3 separate regions of the Homo sapiens genome follow, and all the other regions are linked to region 1. The links are contacts of gene promoters, found by promoter capture Hi-C in human tissues and cell types (Jung and others, 2019). All regions are on one chromosome and are shown on one strand. The core of a region is centred on a gene start or on the middle of the fragment in contact, and the rest is flanking DNA. Distances in the headings are between cores, read along the strand shown. Region 1 holds the start of TMEM14A (transmembrane protein 14A). Region 2 has its middle 20 kb from the start of GSTA3. Region 3 overlaps CILK1 (ciliogenesis associated kinase 1).

What was found. The method cuts DNA at HindIII sites, captures the fragments that hold promoters and counts their contacts. A contact is called where the count stands out against the background at its distance.
Region 2: a fragment that was not itself captured here is called in contact with the fragment with the promoter of TMEM14A in region 1 in 2 of the 25 tissues and cell types used here (H1 embryonic stem cells and mesendoderm cells).
Region 3: a contact is called between a fragment that was not itself captured here and the fragment with the promoter of TMEM14A in region 1, in 3 of the 25 tissues and cell types used here (dorsolateral prefrontal cortex, hippocampus and mesenchymal stem cells).

Annotation. Positions count from the first base shown.
Region 1 is chr6:52,669,430-52,673,096 of GRCh38, reverse strand. TMEM14A (transmembrane protein 14A) reads right to left here and starts at 1,984. Exons shown (of 5, transcript NM_014051.4): 1 at 1,852-1,984. RefSeq lists enhancers at 2,120-2,279, 2,268-2,768. The HindIII fragment of the contact is 4,412 bases long and covers 1-3,667 here.
Region 2 is chr6:52,927,845-52,931,436 of GRCh38, reverse strand. No RefSeq gene overlaps it. Among named protein-coding and RNA genes, the nearest start is that of GSTA3, 20 kb to the right of the region's middle. RefSeq lists a silencer at 1-66. The HindIII fragment of the contact is 8,249 bases long and covers 1-3,592 here.
Region 3 is chr6:53,036,805-53,040,421 of GRCh38, reverse strand. CILK1 (ciliogenesis associated kinase 1) reads left to right here. Exons shown (of 14, transcript NM_014920.5): 3 at 2,429-2,483. Among named protein-coding and RNA genes, the nearest start is that of CILK1, 23 kb to the left of the region's middle. The HindIII fragment of the contact is 4,968 bases long and covers 1-3,617 here.

The sequences.
Region 1 (3,667 bases), core at 735-3,234:
TCCTGGCAGAAGGGAGCGCATGTGCAAGGCCCTAATGGCACAAGAAAGCATGTTCTCAAAATGAAAAGTGCAAGGGGCTTGTGAAAAGAGAGGGTGCTGGTGAGAAAGACAGGGCTGTACACCCACATAAGCCCCGTAAAGGGAGTCTGGTTCCGTCCTAAGGGCAATGAAGGATCACTGAAGGGAGCCTCACAATCAGATTTAAATTCCAGCAAGCACTTCCCAGTTGCAGTAGTGAAGATGGGTTGTGAAGTGAGGCAGGGAGATAAATCGGGAAGCTGTTGCAGTAAAGTAAGCAAGAGCTTAGTTGATAACGGTAGGCTTATCTAGAGAAATGGCAATGAGAATGGAGAGAAGGTGGACAGATTTCAGAAGTTCAGGAGGTAGAATCAGAATTGAATTTGAGGCGGGAAGGGAAAGTCAGGGGTGAATCAGAGATGACTCACCCCTAGGTATCTGGCTTAGACCATTAGGAGAAGTAGGGAGTCGGGGAGCCTCATGCTATTCCCTGAGACAGAGAACATGGGAACAGCAGCAGGTGTGTGGCGGTGGGAAGAGGGAGGTGGCTAGGAATGATGGGACCTGTTTAGAATGTATTCAGTCTGAGACGCCCAACACACAGTCCGGAAAACACCCTTACATACAGATCTGAAGCTTATGAGAGTTCTTTCATTATCAGGTGTAACTTCTAGACCTAATTTTCTCCTAAAGCTAAGTAGCTGTTGTGAAAGATTAATTCCACTCCATCCTGAGCCCCCCAGCTCTTCCTGCGATCTTCTCTTGAGGACCCATACCCTTTTACTTGGTTGGGATTCTCTCAACTCTCAGCCAGCCAAGCTCCTTGAGGGCAAACCAAGGTTCAGTTTATCTTTGTCCTCCTCACAGCACCAAGAACCCTGCCATGCACAAGGCAGGTACTTAAAATACTTGTTAAATGAATAAATGAGTGAGTGAACCAAAGGAACAGCTTCTGCCTGAAGACATTCTGTAACTGACCTACCCAATACAGCTTTATTGCCAGGAAACAGGTAGCCCCTTAATCTCCTTAGCGAACTGACTGTTGTTCTAAAGAGGCAAAATAAATCTACTCCCAATGCTTGCAAGAAGATTCTGTTCTCACAGAGAATATTCAGACAAAAGAATCACCTATTCCATGACGGAGCCATGTGGCCAGGCCAGAAGCACACATTAAAGCCAGAGGCTGTGTTAACATGGAAGGGATAAGGTGGGAGAGGATGTGCACAGCACATCACACGCTCTCATCACAAATGTGATGCTCAAGCCTTGGAAGGACTAAAACGCATCTTGGATGCAATGCAGCAAAACGATTTACCATACCAGGTACAAAACAAGGTGACAGGGGACAGCCTCGCTGCCCGCCCCAAATCCTCCAAAATTCGGAGAATTAAGAGATTTTCGGTGAACTGTTACATAAAAAGCATTTTCACATGCTAAAGATATAACAATTACCTACCCTTGAGCTCTTGGAGGGCACAAAAGGCACATTTTCGAGTGGGGTCTGGGTGGTGCTGAGAAGGTTAAAATCCTGCCAAGCATTTTGCAATGGTCCATGAGCCCACCCCACCACCCCAGATCCAGGAAGGTAGGAGGCAGGATAGGTGGGATATTTAGGGATACCAGAAGGCAGAAACTCGGGAGGAGGAGAAAAATGATACCGCGGAGGTAAGACCGATGCCCTGCAAAATCCCCTCAAGGTCCTCTGCATCATCGTTTGCTGTACAGGTTTGGCGCGGGGGAGGGGATGCCCGCTAAGCAACGCCCCTTATATTTCTGCAGTTTTGTAAGAAAATTCAGAGCAGGAAGGTCTCCATTGCGGGATGCACAGCTCACCTGCAGCCCCGAGCCTTCACTGCAGCTGAAAAGACAGAAGTCTGGGGCCAGCTGCCGCCAAGCGCGGTACCTGGAGTCCGGAAGCAGTCTCCGCACCAGCGCTGTCCCACTCGGCGCCCAGCCGTCTCGCGCTGAGCAAAGGCCGCTCCCTCCTGGAAACGCCCTCCCTGCCGCGCGCATGCGCTGTGTCCCTTCTCGCCTTGCAGGACTCCACCCGGTCCATGCCCTCCGGCTGAATCCGGGCGGCCTGTAGGCCAGGCAGCCAGGAGGCCCTGTGCTGCAACATCCCGGCGGCAGCCGGACCCGTTGCTCCGTCTATCCTGCCTTCGGCCCTGTCCTGGAGCCAGGGCTGGGGTTTGCTGCCTCCCGCCTGACGGAGCAGGACTGGCAGGAAGCGTGTTTGCAAGAAGCCAAAATTACAGAAGGCGAAGATTTTTAAATTAACTCCATTCATCTTTCAAGGGACATTTCCAGAACCTCCAAAAGGCAACCCGAGGTCTTCTACACACCCTCCAGCAGACTGTCCCCACTGTCAGTGGAGGGAGCTAAGGTTCAGTGAGGTCAAGTGACTTAGTTGTCCCAGGTCAAAATCCAAGTTTGCCTGGTGTCAAAGCCCAAGCACCCTTCATTACACTATGGGATCATCTAGATGTGGTTGGGAGACGAGGATCCTAGTTTTAAACTTCAGGCCCAGGATTTGCTGGGTTTAGATATCTACTGGGAAAGGTATAGAATTCCAGAGTTGGAAAGCACTTAAAACCTTGCCTAATGCAAGGCAATCCGCTCAATCCCAGGAACGAAACTTAAACTGACCTTATTTTTTTTTTAAATACAGGATCTCAGTCGGTCGCCCAGGCTGGAGTGCAGTGGCACCATCCCGTCTCACTGCAACCTCTGCCTCCTGCCTCCTGGGTTCAAGCGATTCTCCAGCCTCAACCTCCCAAGTAGCTGGGATTACAGGTGTGTGCCACCTCACCCGACTATTTTTTTTTTGTAGAGACGGGGTTTCACTGTGTTGCCCAGGATGGTCTTGAATTCCTGAGCTCAAAGCAATCCTCCCGCCTCTGCCTCCCAAAGTGCTGGGATTACAGTTTAAATTGACTTTAAATTATGCCTCCCTGTAGCAACTTATCATCTCAATCTTCTGCCTTCTTGATTGAATACAGAACTCCGACCCTCTTCCTTATGTAACAGCCCTTTGGAGATTTGAAGAAGGTTGTCATAGTGAAGTAGCTCTAGAGGTTCTGTGTCACTGAGAATTACAGCGGAATTCCTCAGAATAAAAAAGGAAACTCAAAAATTAAATCTTGTGAAGTTTGTTTGCTACATCTATTCTTTGTGCATAAAAGTGCTTCAGGGAAGTAATATAACTACATCTAACTTATGAAAGTCTAAGTTGGTCCTGGGGAATTAATAAAATTCCTGAAGATTCACAGAAGAGTTGATGGCAAGGCACTGGAATGTGGCGTGGAGAAAGTGATAGCCTGAAATTTGGTTCTGAGTTCTCTCAGCCCTCCTTTCCATCCCCTTCTATGCCCATCCTTACCCCAGCCTCCTCACCTTCTCTCCTCACACTCTCAGAACACTTACCCTATTTGGAATAAAACTAAAATCCTCTTGGAATACTTCATTATCTTCATCTGATGTGACCTGGGTAAATAACTCCCCTCTGGACCTCAGTGCCTGGATTTAAGATATGGACAAGACTAGATGCTCTGAGATCCCTTACACCCTATCACCAACATACTCGAAGCTGGAAACAGCCTCATGATATTCCTACTCAAGGCGTATCACCTAAAACTAAAGAAAAACTCTT
Region 2 (3,592 bases), core at 349-2,848, 260 kb before region 1:
AAGTGTTACTTAAGCCATGTTACCTGTTCATAGAGCTGTAATGTACACTTAAAAGTAGTTGCTATTTCCCAGAATTCTAAATGCCCCCATTTCCCTTTACAATTGCAAAAGAATCCAATAATCTAGTTAATTACATTTTCTTTTCAGGTCTTTGTGGATGAATTTAAAACTATAATTTAGTTACATTTCTTCTTCTCAGAAGGCATCATAGAGAGTACCTCTGTGTAGTGATAAAGTGCCCTGTGAAGTGTAAAACATACAGACAGGGGAGCCCCAGGACTGGAAGGGAAGCCAGAGCTCATCAAATCAGGTGATACCCTGGAGACACAGTGGAGATACCTCTGGTGAAGGGGGGTGCAACCCTCAGCCTCTTCTGGGAATGAAATTGCAAAGCCTCTTCAAGTAAATTTTCATGAGCTATTTCCAAAATCATCTCCAGTTTAATCAGGGCATCCACATCAAAAAAGACAAAAAGATGTCCTTGAAGGGTCTGGTTTATCTGTAGACTCTAAGGACAGACATTGATGCCCACAAATGAAATGAGTTCAACCAAAATGAAAAACCAGAGGCTGCTTTCTGACTCTTTCTTCGACATGTACTTGTGTGCGTGTGTGTGTGTGTGTCTGTTAATCAAGTGATGGATTAGACACAATGCCTGGCACACAGCAGACCTTCAATAAATTGCAGTTCTTCCCCTTTCTTTCCAAACCTAGAAAGGAGGAGCAGAGACTTTTACTGGCAGGCCGGAAGACTGTATCTGCCTCTGAGCCATCAAATAGGACGTCGAAGTCCTTCAAATCAGGAACAGAGGTACATTCAATAGAAGCCTCATTGCTGGTCCTGGGCAGGAAAGCCTCCCTCCTCCTGAATATGTGCTCAGGCCTGGTCCAGTTGGGATTTGCTTCTTACCAGCCCCTCCATGTCTGGTCCCACAGTTCAGTCCTGCTGCTTGTACTTCACCAAGAATTAAGCTTTGAAAAGTGGAATTGTGGGGAAAGAGTTCCTTTACTCTGGAGAAGGAGAGGCAGAGTGAGAGCCTCTCCATCCTTTAACACAAATGCCTACAAGTAAATAAACACTCTGAAGCCTCATGGGTAGTTTAACCACGATTGGAAATTTTAAAACATTTCAGCCAATAGAAAAGAGATAACACTCCCAGGTCAACAATTCTGGTCAAAGGTACCATTGTATGCCTTTTGCGAAGTAAAACAGTACGAACCACAGTTGAACTATATCAGCAACAAAAAATCACAGGCATTCTGCAGGCCTTTGTGTCTGAAGCACTGATGGCTGTGATTTCTCAGCTGCTGTCCATAAGCGCCTTCTGTCCCCCACCTGGTGTGGAGGGCTTCACCTGCAGAGAGCGCTTGTGTCTGAACCGCCCATTTGGCTTACATTGTTTACACTCATTACTCACAGTGTGGCCCTGGACCAGCAGCATGGGCAGCACCTGGGAACTTGTTAGAAATGCAGTTTCAGGTCCCACCCCAGCCTTACTGAATCAGCATCTGCATTTTGGCAAGATCCCCAGGTGACTTGTGTACCCATTAAAGTTTGCAACACTGCCTTGTGTTATCATTCATCTTTCCAAACACAGTCTCGGGTTCTCTCCAGATGTGAGAATGTTCTATGATCTTGCATCCCCTGTTTGCTCTCTGTACGTAAGGATCCTTACCCCCCATCTCTGTCTGCTTCAGATTTGAGACCCTCACTCACTTCCGGGAATGGTGTCTTTTGTTCATGTTCTCTTCAAGCCCAAGATCACAATTTGCTTCTTCCCTTTTACTCTGGGGGAGAGGCATATGATATAACAAAAAAAGCATGGACTTTGACACTGGAAAGATGTGGGATCTGGCTCTTTCACTTACCAGATGGATGACTAAGCAAGTTTTTATCTGTGTGACCCTCATTTCTAAAATGAAGACATTAGTACTCTCCACATTGTATAGATATTGCCTGGCACATGACTCATCTGCTTGCTCAGCCTTCCTGGCTACATGGCTGGCCCTTGGCCATCTCTTGATAATCAGATCTTGAGCAGCCCTGGCAGGGATGGCCTTGTTATCCTTGGGCCCATACCCCTCTCCATTAGTGGCTCCAGAGAACTGGATGTGAACAGCACTTCTTCCTGGTCTGCCATGAATTCAGCTCTGATTTGGGCAGTTCCCAGTTTGCAAATTTAGGATGAGATCTTTTACTCAAATTGTTTCCAAACAAAATATGGTTATTATTTTTGCAATTATAGCAACCTTTTGTTTGAGAGGATACGGTACATTTTTATCACCATTCAAAAAGTTACAGTTTTGGTGGTATAAAAATTCATTTTTAATTAAAACATGTTTGGGGTACTATGAATTATATTCATTCTACAAAGAGCGGGTACTTTTGTTTTTTCCTTCTTGCATTTTACTTGTTTTCTTTGCTTCTTTTAAAGACACTGTTCCTGGCTAGGCACGATGGCTCACACCTGTAATCCCAGAATTTTGAGAGGCCAAGGTTGGAGGATCAATCAAGATCAGGAATTCAAGACCAGCCTGGCCAACATAGTGAAACCTCGTCTCTACTAAAAATACAAAAATTAGCCAAGAGTGATGGTGGGCACCCATAATCCCAGCAACTTGGGAGGCTGAGGCAGGAGAATCGCTTGAACTCGGGAGGTAGAGGTTGCAGTGAGCCGAGATCACACCAACCTTGGTGACAGAGTGAGACTCTATCTCAAAATAAATAAATTTTAAAAAATAATAAAAAAACAAAAACACTGTTTCTGATGCCATTAGAGGTCAGCAGAAGCAAAGAAGACACATTCTAATCAATTTTTCCCCCCTTTGGTAACTCAGTGGGAGGGAAAGTTGAATTTTTCTGGAGTATCTTATTTTTTCCAAATGGTGAAAAAAAAAAGCTGAAACTGATTTATACATCAAATCTTCGTTCTAACTAGGTATATTATACAAGCTACATATTTGATAATAGTTGAATAGTAAAAACGTTAAAGAAGTGAAGTGTCCATTTTGAAGTATGGTTTTTTAAAGGTTTCATTTGATTTTTTTTTTTTCGAGAAGTTTTTGCTCTTGTTGCCCAGGCTGGAGTGCAGTGATGCGATCTCGGCTCACTGCAACCTCTGCTTCCTGGGTTCAAGTGATTCTCCTGCCTCAGCCTCCCAAGTAGCTGGGACTACATGTGCCTGCCACCATGCCCAGATAATTTTTGTATTTTTAGTAGAGACAGGGGTTTCACCATGTTGGGTAGGATGGTCTTGATCTCCCGACCTCATGATCCACACACCTTGGCCTCCCAAAGTGCTGGGATTACAGGCATGAGCCACTGCACCTGGCCTTCATTTGATTTTAAAATTGAATTATCAGCAAGTCCCAGTACCAACCGCTAATGCTGCACATACAGTTTAGAGGTCAAGGTTCCAGTTAAAGAAACAATATTTTAAAATAATAAGAATGAACAGCTTGGATTAAAAATTACATCTGCTTGCATTTTCTCAGCCAAGATGTTTTGCTTTTTAGCTTGCTTTTTTTGATTATCAACATAGATATTTTTTATCCAGGGGTGTGTATTCCTAATCTTCACTAATTCATTCCTT
Region 3 (3,617 bases), core at 529-3,028, 370 kb before region 1:
TCAGTTCCTTGCCATGTGGGCATCTAAAAAGCAGCTTACAACATGGCAATTTGCTTCATCAAAACTTGGGAGTCAAGAAGGCAATGAGAGACTTGTACTGAGATGGAAGTCATATCTTGCTTTTGTAAATTAATCACAGAAGTGACATCCTTGTCAAATTGCTATATTCTGTTGGTTAGAAGCAAGTCGTTGAAGGAGAGGGGGTTCTAAAAGGCCCTGGGTAGCAGGAGGTGGGAGTCTCTGGGAACCACATTGGAGACTGCCACAACTATCTCTATCCAGTTGACTTGTCAGCATCTATATTTGAATGCCCTGCAGACATTTCACACTCACCATGCCCAAAACTACACTCATATTTAGCATATTCTCTCTTACCCCAAATTTGTTTCTTCTTCAGTGTTTCCTATTTCAATAATTGGTACTATACCCTCAAAACCTGGGAGTCCTCCTGCCTTCCCTCCCCATTATGCCTCACCTTTAGTCATCTAGTACTGTCAATTTTACGTAATATTTATGTCATCCACCTACTTCTGTATATTCCCACTGCTAACCTCCATTCAACCCATTACCATTTGCCACCTCCACCATGAGGTCCTCCGCCACTAGGGCTCCTGGCTTTTTTCCCCCTATTCATATCAGACCAAAGGGATTATTTTAAACATACAACTTCAATCATCTAAAACTACTTGACCAAATGTTCTTTGTGTTCCATGAACACATCCCTTGCTCCCACCTGATGTCAGTGCAGCTGTAGCGCACAGCTCTATGCCCATGCCAGCACCCCATCCCAAGTGCATGTGGGAGACTTTCAACCAAGGTGCATTCTGTCCAGCTCCTTAAAAGGTCCCCAGCCTGCCTGAGCCAGTTGCCAACCCTGTTATTGGCTTACTCATACACCCATTATTGGGTTCCCTACCTCTCTTTTCTCAGTCTCCTGCTCCTTGCCCTGGCTTCCTGGAATCACCTCCCAAATAAACTACCTGCACCCAAGTTCTTGCCCAGGCCCTGCTTTTGGAGGAATCCAAACCAAGACAGCTTCCAATGTCTTCCTGGCAGTTTTAGGATGAAGCCCCAAATGTTTATGTGACCTACAAATTGCTGCATCATTTGGCTGAGCCACTGCTCCCGTCAGGTTCACTTTTATAGGCCCTTTTCCTTTCTTCACAGCACTTGGTACAGAAAATTATTTTCTACCTTCCTGCCATGATGTCAGTTTCATGAGGGATGTCTTTCTCATCATTGTCTCTCCAGTGCCTGACAAGGCACCTACTGTACTACATAGCAGGGGCTAAATAATATTTCGGGCATGAATAAAGGATTTGATCACTCTACCGGGAGACAGTGTGACAAGGACAGAGTGAGCTGGAGAGATGGGAAGTTTGTTATTGGCCAGCAGTAAGACCTCGGGAAAGTCGTGTACCTTCTCTGTTTCTGTTTCCTCAGCTGTCCTATCTGTTTCACAGGACTGCTATAAGACAAATGAGACAATGTGATTGAAATGCACTGAAAAATATAACCTTGAAAGTTGAATTTCTGATTAACTCTGGAGTTTTCTTTTCTCCATTGAGGCTCTAGACCAGGGGTTGGCAAACTTTCTCTATGAAGGGCCAGGCTGTAAATATTTTAAGCTTCACAGGCCATATGGTCTCTTGCAACTACTCAGTTCTGCTGTTGTAGTTTGAAAGCAGCCACAGGCAGTATATAAATGAATGAGTATGGTTGTGTTCCAATAAAATTTCACTTATAGAAACTGGAATTTGAATTGCACAAAATTTTCACATTGTGAAATATTATTCTTCTTTTGACTTGTCCCCCAATTTAAAAAGGTAAATGCCATTCTTAGCTCGTGGGCTGTACAGAAACAGATGGTGGTGAGGTTTTGGCCCATGGGTCATAGTTTGCTGACTCCTGCACTAGAGGGTCTAGAACTCTGCTGTCTAGTATGATAGCAAGTAACCATATGTGGCATTTAAATTTAAATTTAATTAAAATTAAAATTCAGTTCCCACATTGTGCTAGCCACATGCCAAAGTGCTCGGTAGCCACATGTGTCTAGTGGCTACCATCCTGGACAGCACAGAGCAGTTTCACCAATATAGAAAGTTCTGCTGGACAGCTCTGGTCTAAATAGAATAAGCCTGAGCAATTTCCTTCCAGAGCAAGGTTAGTTAGTTAGTATAGAGTAAGACAGCAGTCCAGGCCTCTTTGGACTGCACCACACCACTGCTACTGGCAAAATTTGTGACTTAGGATTATTGCACTGCTGTTTGAAAATAAGTGCTGGTTTGGGATAGTATAATACTGGGTAGAAATTTAAACCCACTTTAAGTACTGTTAATTAGGATCAGAATGGAAGCATTTTTCTAAAAGCAAAGTTTAACCTATTACTGAGAATAAGTGTGCTGTTTGTTTCTTTCTTCTCTTCTAGAATGAAAAGAAAATTTTATTCCTGGGAGGAATGCATGAACCTTCGGGAGGTTAAGGTATATATTAATATACCAAGGAATAATTTATGGATGATTAAAATAGCTTTGTACATGCTTAGATTTATAGTTGATATAGTCATTTCATTTGAATTTTTTCACTAATGCTGGAAAGGGAGGCAAATGATAACATTACAGCTGAAGCAGAAGATTATGGTATAATTGTATATACTGTTATTAGAAAGCTTTCATCTTTAATGGATCACTTATATCAATATATTTCAATATAAAGAAGTTGAATGTGTTGATTTAGTGAATTATTATTGCCTATTTTCTTAATTATTAACGTAAAGGAAAATCACTTGTTGAGTGTTTTTCCTAGACATAATAGCAGTACTTACTTCAGTTTCTTGCTCTAATAATTTGCACTCCACTTTCTGTGAGGAAATTCATTGACCCCCACACCCTTGCGCTTGTTGAGCCTCACACAGACTTACCAGCACTGGGCCACAGCCTAACCCTGAACACAGAGGGGAGGGAAGGCAGAAGCGGGTAGAAAGGAGGCACCTTACAAGATTCCTCATCCGTTCCTCCTTGCTGAGGTCCTTCTTTTGTGCCATGTCAAGCATTGTGGAGCACCGATCTTTACTTTTATTCAGCCTTCTGACTGGATTCATTATTCTCCTCCTTTCCCCCTGCCCCTGGGATTCATTATTCTCCTCCTTTCCCCCTGCCCCTTCTTCTATTGATTTTGTTCCAATTTTTCTCTCTGTCAGAGTAGATTGATCACATTGAGTTTTACATGCATAATTCTCTTCCTTGTGCAGTGGAGTGGTGCTTCATCTAATTTTAGTCCTCTCACCCAGCCCTGTTTGAAACACCTAATAGAATACTGAAAAACACCCTTTCTTTTTCTCCAAAGGGGTCCTGTACATGGAAGTGAGGTTACAAGTCTAAAGCAGGGATCAGCAAACGTTTTCTGTAAAGGGCCAGATAGTCAGTCTTTTATGCTTCTAGGACTAAAAGGTCATATTGAAGATGTTATATAGATACATGTGTAACAAGAGCAAAAACAAATTTCCATAAAATTTTTATTTATAAAATATAAAATGTAATAATAATTTAGTATAATTTTCTGTATTAGAGGTCTTCCAGTGAGAAGAATGATATTCTTTTTGAGGGGACATAATATTT